Regions from separate parts of the Homo sapiens genome. Here region 2 is linked to region 1. The links are contacts of gene promoters, found by promoter capture Hi-C in human tissues and cell types (Jung and others, 2019). All regions are on one chromosome and are shown on one strand. Each heading gives the region's core, a stretch centred on a gene start or on the middle of the fragment in contact. The rest is flanking DNA. Distances are from core to core; before and after follow the strand shown. Region 1 holds the start of C14orf132 (chromosome 14 open reading frame 132). Region 2 overlaps GLRX5 (glutaredoxin 5).

Region 1 (4,330 bases), core at 1,215-3,714:
AGAAATGTAAAATGAAAGATGATATTTAAAAACCTATAACTAGCAAGATTAATATCTAAAACATATACTTTTCCTGAGTCAATAAAAAAATAAGCAAAATTTTAAAACAAGCACAAAAGACCTGGTGAAAGGCATTTCTCATCAAAGGAAATGAAACTGATCAATAGATGTATAAAAGATGCTTAATGTCATTAGTAATCAGAGAAATGAGGATCAAATCCAAATGAAACACTACTTCATCATATCATATTTGCAAAACTTAAAAAAAAATCCTAACAATACAAAGTGTTGGTCAATTGTGGAGCAATAAAAACCCATGCCTACTATAGGTAGGATAATAAAATGGATGAAGCCTCCTTGGAAATCAGAAACTGGAAAGCAATGGGCATCAATTAGTAAAAGCACAGATGAGCTGACCACAATACCCAACTGTTCCATTCCTAGCGTATTCCCTGAGGACCCCTTGCACCTGTGCATCCAAAGACAAGATCGAGAGTATTCACAGCAGCATTTTTTTTTGGCGTTATCAGAAAACCTGGAGATGACCAAAGTATCCATCAAAGGGCTAGTGCATCAATAAAAACTGTGATAAGGACATACAAATGGAATATTGTGTAGCACTGAAAAACAATATACGTCAACTACACAAATAATGCTGAGAAAACAACAAAGAAGACATGGAAGAGCAAATTTAGAGCAATTTAATTTTTCTACAAAGGGTTAAAGCAGGTAATCTATAAAGGTAAAACTATAAAGAAAAGCAAGAGAATTGACAAGAGTGAATACTAAATAGGATGGAGGTGACCCTGGAAAGGGGGCAGGTAGGAGATGCCTTTGGAGAGATACACAGTAGGACTTCACGACTGTTTTTTATTGTTCCACTTTTTAACCTATGCAAGGCTATATTATTTTTCAAATTGCACACACACAACCTATACGCCCTTTTATTGTGAAGTATGCCGTGTACATAATATTTCTTACAGCAGACGGGGAGCCCTGGGCAGTTCTGGGCAGGCTGCTTTGCTATTGGCCACAGGAAGGGTGGGAGGAGGTGGGCGGCTCTTGGCATGGACTGTTTGGGCAGGCCCCGTGTGGACTAGGCTGGGAGGTGGCAGGAATGATGGGTGTGGTGAGTGCAGTACTGGCTAAAAACAGGGAGGGAAGGGAGGGCCAGGGAACTGGAGGGTTTAGAGACCAGAGGAGGAAGGGAGGAGGCAAGCATGACAGGAAAAGTGAAAAGAGAAAAGAAAGAAAAAAGTGGGGGGAAGGGGAGAGAAGGAGAGAAGGAAGAGGAGGAAGAAAAGGAGGGAGAAAGGAAGGGAAGGAAAAGAAAAGAAAGGAAAGTTACAGGAAAGATAACACTGAAAGCCTTCTGTAGGTCAGTGAGGTTCTGGTCCCATTCCCATAGCCACAGTCCCTACTGGGCCCCCAGCTGCCGGGGGACCTTGAACAAACCCCTCCATCTCCCTGTGCCACAGCTTCCTTGCCTGTGACAAAGTCTGGGAGTCCCAGGCTGCCCCTCACAGAGGCTCGTGATGACCATGAGTGTAAAGTACCTGGAAGAGACATCACCCAAAGGGACCAGTCGTACTCACTGAGACTCCTTAGAGTACAGCTGGTTCCCTCCCAGTGAGCCCCCGGAGGGCAAAGCCTCCACGTGTCACCAAGTCTGTGGTGTCCACCACACACACACACACACACACACACACATACAGAGCAATGGGCCCCTGTGGGCGTCTCTTCTGTTCCCCTTACTTGAACTGTGGCACCTGCATGATTTTCGATACTGGTTTGAGCTGAGAGCCATGGAGTACCCGCTGTGCAACCTGAGCACCGTGCGGTCCTCGAAGACACCACTCACAGCCTCGTCTCTATTGGATGATTAGCCATGTTAGGGCTCTCATTTATTGAGGACACCGCGTGCTATATTCCCTATCTCATTTAATTATTCGGTTCTGTATTCTCTTTTCACAGATGAGGAAATCTAGGCTCAAAGACACTATCTTGCTCAAGCTGCACAACAAAGCAGGGCTAGGATTAAACCTCGTTCTGCCCAGATGCCGAGCCGGGAGTACACCGGACTCTGGGAGGAGCGTTGGCGTGGAAAGCCAGGTCACTCCGATCTTGGTCCTCAGGCTCGGGATAACGTGTCAGCCCCAAGAGAGCGCTGCCCACAGCCCCGGGTGGGTTGGGTTCAACTGCACGGGGCGGGGCGCCAACAGCTCAGGACTTGGGTTGCAGGCTGGTTCTTGCACCAACCAGCGGGGCGGCCTCGGGCCTCAGTTTCCCCATCCCGCCCACGAAGGGAGGCGATTGCGAGCGCTTGGGGTTTCTGACGGACCCCGCCCCGGGGGTGGGGCGGGGAGTGGTCACGTGGAGGGGCGCCCCGTCCGCCGAGCCCCGCCCCACCCCGCCCCGCCCGCCCCCGCGCTCGGGGCCCTCCGCCTAGTAGAGATCTGGAGCCAGAAGCCCAGAGACAGCCGAGTGCGCCGTGCGGTCTCCGGACGCTCGCTGCTCAGCCCGATCCCCGCCAACTGTGCAGGCGGCTGACCCGCAGCGGCAGCGGCAGCAGCGAGGACTCGAGCGCTGGCTGCAGCGACACCATGGATCTCTCCTTTATGGCCGCGCAGGTAACGGGGCGTCCCCCCCACGCGCCCCGGGCCGCCAAGTTTGGGGAGGTTCGGGGCCACGGTCTCGCCCTCCACGCTGGGGCTGGGCAGTGGCGCCCGCCCGCGATCCGCGTCCCGGTCCTTTGTCCCGAGCCGGACACCCCCACTTGGTGCACGCGTCGGGGGCGGCGATCGCGGCTCTCCCGGGGTGGGGCGGGCTGCGCGCCCCGCACCCCCGCGGCTCGAGCTGTTCCCGCCCGGGCCCCTCTCGTTGGCAGGAAGGCTGCGAGGAGCCTGGGCAGCCCGAGTCGCCCCCTTCTGCCCATCCCCCACTGCTGTCCCCCTTCTGGGGTCCCGGAGCCCTCCAAGGCCGGGCCAGCTCAGACCCGCGCGAACGTGGATGGGCACACAGTCTCGCCCTTCCCCACTCTGTTTTCCCGAGGCGCCAGTAATCTGTCTCTTGCCGGTGACCTCGGGCGCCCCCTTTGCCGCCGCCTGAGGAAGGCTCTGAGACCCGCTTTGTGACCGTGACCCGCCAAGCGTCGACGCGCCGCGGTCGTTTGTCCTGTTTTGCTTTGTGTAGAGTCTGATGGAGCCACCAGTGCCCAGCGCGGCCAGAACCCCCCCACCCCCCTCCCCGACACAAACAGGCTCCCAGTGGCCGGAAAAACAAATCTCTCACAGCTTGAATTTTCCTCCGGCAGAATGCCCTGGAGTTCTGAGCTTGGGTGATGATTCTATTTCTGTGCCTTAACTCTCTTGAGCCAGAACAAAGACAAATCCCGGATTTCTCCATCAGTCTGTGACCCTAGAGAAGACCCAGAGCTGGCTCCAGGGAAGGGCTGCGTTTGGCCTGGGAGAGTAAGTCCCAATCTACCAAAGCCACATCTTGCACCTTCTCTGGTTGTGTTGGTTGGTTATGGTGGGAGCAGAGAGGTCGGGAGGCCACCCAGGCTCCCTTCTGTCTCCAGGGTGTGTGGCAGGGACCCCATCTGCTGCTGTTTTCTTTTACAGGGAACGAAGTTTGAGGGGACACTTGCTTTTTCCCCAAGCTTCACCTGTAGTGGAAGCCTGTTTAAAAAGTGACAGCAAAATCCAGACTGTGTGTGGACAGCGAGTCTGCAAATGGAGGCTTAAAAGATGCGGAAGCCCCAAGTTAGTTCTGGGGGTCTAGATCCTGGCTCTCCGGCAGCCCCTTAAGTTTTCCATGATGCTAATTGCCCTTCTGAGTATCGCTGGCCCTTTTTTTTTTGCCTGATTTTACATCTCCTGTGCCTAAATCCATACTTATAAAAATTGTCATGTAAACATCATTTTAGATAATGATGGTTTTAGCTACATGAAAACTAAGGAGGCTTTCCAGGATTTATTTCTAGACTGGAGAAGAACTGTGTCTGCCTTCCCCTCTGGATCCCACTGAACCTCCGGAATTTCCATGGTTAACAAGATAAACTGATCCCTGCTAACCCTGGAGCTGGCTGGAGCATCAGTTGCTGCCATGGCAACTTGACGAAATAAATACAGGGCTTTTTAACGTCTTCAGGCAGAATCTGCCCAGAGACCAGGTTCCTATTTTTCCTTTTTTGTTTACAATTCACATTCCACTCGGTCAATGTATTCTCCTTGACACATTTTTGACACTGGTTACATGCGCAGTACTGTGCTAGCTGCAAGGAACAGAAACATGAAGTACCACACATATGAGAACAGACGCTAAGGTT
Region 2 (4,330 bases), core at 1-2,500, 500 kb before region 1:
TGACTGAGTCCCTGCATGTCCCTAGCTAAAAAGAGGTGCCAGTTGTGTGCTAAAAATAGGTGCCAGGTTCTCTGTTACTCTAAATTCGAAATTACTAATCATAGTCATTGCTTACAATGATGAGACAGGCTGGTGTTTGGAAAAGCTTTGGGTTGACATCCTCTTCTGTGGCTAATCAGGTGTAAAACTTAAGTCACTCACCTGCATTTGAGGATAATGAGACAATTTGGCAAAGTTTGTGTTAGGAAGCCAAAGTAAAAATTATAGAAAGTGTGTATTATTTTACCTGGCACAGAAAGCACCCGGTAAATGGTAGCTGGCTTCGTATTAGCACTTGATGGTTTTCAAATGTATTTTTTCCCAGATTATCTAGTCCTTAAAGACTCTTGGGGATAACTGATCCTCCATTTGCTGTAGGTGATAGTGGTGGTGGGTGGGACCTAGAAAGCATGTTGAGTTGAGGAGTCGAGAGGGCAGGTTCAAATTACCACGTATATGTAATATTACCATGTGTTATTCTCATGACCCTTTTGTCTTCCTTGTCAACTAGTATGCCACCAGTTACTGGGCTCAGTTTTATCATGTGCAAGGCAAGGGACCTGCAGTCTTCCTTCGAAGACAGCTTCTCTGCTTAAAAGAGGAGTAACTATTTTGCAGTCTTTTGACAGAGACCTTGCAGGGAGTCCCCTGCAAATTGCCAATATGGCACTAGTAAAAAAGTGGTGTTGTTATCTCGCTTAGTATCATGTTTCGAGGGTCTTTGGTTTGTGAATTTATTTTCTCTTGTTTAATATAACTGGAAATGAGATATGCTGGAATATAGCTAGTAAACGGAAAATAGGAGCAAAAATACGAATATGTACTGATAACATTTTATTTTTCTGTCTTTTATCCACGTCTGGTGTCTGGTTTCTGAGCTTACTTTCTTAAGTTTTCAAACAGCAGCGACAGGAATTTAACCCTTACATTCCTTGACCACTGAGTTTCATCAGATTGCTATTTTGGTTAATAAACGCGTTGCATATATATTGAATATAACATACCTCTTTTATTGATTAGAAAAGTAAAGATTAGTAAGTATTAACATTTGGACTGGGCAGGGTGGTAAAAGCACGTTCCCCAAATGGGGATTAGTTCAGCCAGGTTATTAAGACTCTTCCCCTCTTCCCTATACAGCTTTATTTACCAAGAGCAACTAACGGGCTGTCCGATGCTTGCTTTTGCCAGCCGAAACTATGTTTGTACACCAGATCCAAGGTCATTTCTAGTAATAGGAACGGAGCTCTTGCAAAACTGGCCTTTTGTTGGTTCTTATGCCAAGGAGACCTGAACTTTACAAAGTGCCTAAACCGGAGGAAAACATTCTTTCCTAGTTTTGAGTACTGGGTTCCCAGGAGTGTGATACAGACACATCTTGAGACTGTGACCCAAGGAACAAAGGTGACTATGAGGCAGCATTGTGTTCTGGCCTTCTCAAGACCTTCTTGTCCTTCTCTTTTTATCTGGAGTGCACACAGAAGACAGTCACAAAGGGATCAGGTCCCAGTAGACTGACATCATCATTTCCTAATCCTGGTCTTAATAAAGGAACTTATGCTCATGGAAGCAATGTAGAAAACACTGAAAAGTTTAAAGAAGGAAAATCACCTGTAATTTATGGAAACTATTGTATTAACATTTAGATCTAGTTCCTAACAGTTTTTTTTTTTTTAACACATTGAGACCATGCTTGTCTATACATAGTATTTTGCCCTCCAGAGACGAGGGAATATGTCTTATGCCACTGCCTGTGGTGCTGTGTGTACCGCTTATGCAAAGCAAGCTTTCAGTGAGCATTTTAATAAATAAATAAATACTGCTTTTATTTATCATTATATTGCAAACTCTGCGGCCTTAAAGGCATTATAAACATTTGCTGCCGATTTAGATCATCATTGTAGTCCTTGCATCTGGAACAGTGACAGAATAGGGACTCAAATGATTTGTTGAATAAATAACCATATCCTGTTGTTGAATGTTTATTAAGCATTTGAAAATACGCTCCACCTTTTCAGTATCAGGGAATTGAAGACAGTAGTGAAACATGTCATGCTGGTGAACCTTAAAAGTTGGATAACAAGTTGTGTGTATGTGCTTGTGTGGTGCACATGTATGCTGCAGATGGGAGTATAAAATGGTACCAACACTTTGGAGGAGTAACTATCAGTACCCAGTCAAGCTATGGGTGAACAGAGCCTAAGACCCAGCTGCGTGACTCCTAGGTATATATTCTAGAGAGGGGGATCTGCAAACTTACCCTAGTAAAGGGCCAGAGACTAAGTACGTCAGGCTTTGTGGGCTGTGTGGTTTTTGTTGCATCTATTCAACTCTGCTGTTATATAGCCTGAAGTCAGTCATGGGCAATATGTAGATGAATGAGCAGGCTGAGTTTCAATAAAACTTTATTTATGAAAATACAGCTTTAATTACGAAGTAGACTGGATTTGGCCTGAAGACCATAGTTTATCTGTCCCTGGCCTAGAGACTGACTTCTGCATGTGTGTGTTAGGACATGGGTCCCCAACCCCCAGGCCAGGGATCGAGGACTTACAGCAGGAGGTAAGCGGTGGGTAAGTGAGCTTTACCGCCTGAGCTCCGCCTCCTGCCACATCAGTGACGACATTAGGTTCTCATAGGAGCACAAACTCTATTGTGAACTGCACATGTGAGGAATCTAGGTTGTGCGTTCCTTACGAGAATGTAACTAATGCCTGATGATGTGAGGTGGAACCGTTTCATCCCGAAGCTATCCCCACCCTTCCCTGGTCCGTGGAAAAATTGTCTTCCACAAAACCAGTCCCTGGTGCCAAAAAGGTTGGGGACCTCTGTGTTAGGATACCTGTGTTGGCGCGTTCATTGCAGCATGGCTTGCAATAATGAAAAACTGACAGGAAGGGATCTTGGTCTATTAGCAGCAGACCAGATAAATAAACTTTAGTCACATGATGGAAAGCTAAACTGTAGTTAAAATGAACTAGATCTAGATGTATTTAACATGGCTGAATCTCAAAAATACAATATTTAGTCAAAAAGCAAGTTGCAAACACGTAATTATGGCATAATACCATTTGTATATGTAAATGTTAAAGGCATAAAACAGTCCCATATATTGCAGATATGTGTGCAGTGCACTTGTAGCTCCTGGGCAGGAGTGAGATGGCAGCTAGAGGGTAGAGGCCACCTCTGGTGAGGGACTCAGGTAGCATGTGGTTAAGAGTCTGGGCTTTTGTACTCCTGGAAGCCTGGATATAAATCCTGGTTTCACTGCGCTGTCACTGTGAGTTTCGGTAAGTTACTTAACCCTTCTGAGCCTTAGTTTCTTCATCTTATGTAAAGTAGGGATAATTGTACCTGCCTTGTCAGATTTTTGTAAAGATTAAATAAGATTATTTTTGTAAAACGCTTAAAGAGTATGAAACTCAGTAATCCTTAACTCAATAAATGGTATATATATATATATTTTTTTTTTTTTGAGAGAGTGTTACTCTGCTGCCTAGGCTGAAGTGCAGGGGGCAATCTCGGCTCACTGCCACCCCTGCCTCCCGGGTTCAAGCGATTCTCCTGCCTCAGCCTCCCAAGGAGCTGGGATTGCAGGCACCTGGCACCATGCCTGGCTAATTTTTTTTATTTTTAGTAGGGACAGGGTTTCACCATGTTGGCCAGGCTGGTCTTGAACTCCTGACCTCAGGTGATGCACCAGCCTTGGCCTCCCAAAGTGCTGGGATTACAGGTGTGAGCCACCGCACCTGGCCTGAATGGCGTTTTCATTACTTTAGGGTATACTTAATCACTTTTTCCTGCTTTATTTTCCTATGCTTTTTCTGTTGCCTTTCTCAGAAAAGCATTACTGTGAAGGGTGGGTGGTGGAGCATGTTGGTATGGAGAGAATGTCCACACTGTACCTGGTACTATGCTGGGAGCTCAATTCATTTCATTCCTTAGATATCATGGAATCTTCATAATATGTGAGGCGTAGAGTATATTCCCATTTTACAGATGAGGAAACTGAGGCTAAAAGATTAACAGATTTGTCTGAGGCTACATTTACAGGCTAGCAAACCAGATCTACTGATCCTTAAGCCTGTGCCTTGCCCACTCTGCCCCGTGCCTTGCTTTTCCTCTAGTGAGGGTCTACTGATTTCCGTGCTTTCAGCTCAGATCATCTTATCTCGACTTAACGCCATTCTCTAAATTAGAGAATATGAAGAAATTGTGACTCTCAGAGGTGGTGTAACTTGCCCAAGATCACAGAGTCTAGTAGGTAAGAGACAGAGTTGGAACTCATATCAGA

Evidence for each region. The method cuts DNA at HindIII sites, captures the fragments that hold promoters and counts their contacts. A contact is called where the count stands out against the background at its distance.
Region 2: a fragment that was not itself captured here is called in contact with the fragment with the promoter of C14orf132 in region 1 in 1 of the 25 tissues and cell types used here (dorsolateral prefrontal cortex).

What each region holds. Positions count from the first base shown.
Region 1 is chr14:96,036,898-96,041,227 of GRCh38, forward strand. C14orf132 (chromosome 14 open reading frame 132) reads left to right here and starts at 2,465. Exons shown (of 2, transcript NM_001252507.3): 1 at 2,465-2,630. The coding sequence starts at 2,604. RefSeq lists silencers at 2,315-2,504, 2,525-2,574. The HindIII fragment of the contact is 15,410 bases long and covers 1-4,324 here.
Region 2 is chr14:95,536,400-95,540,729 of GRCh38, forward strand. The region is part of intron 1 of GLRX5 (glutaredoxin 5); the gene reads left to right. Among named protein-coding and RNA genes, the nearest start is that of GLRX5, 3.5 kb to the left of the region's middle. The HindIII fragment of the contact is 4,840 bases long and covers 1-3,670 here.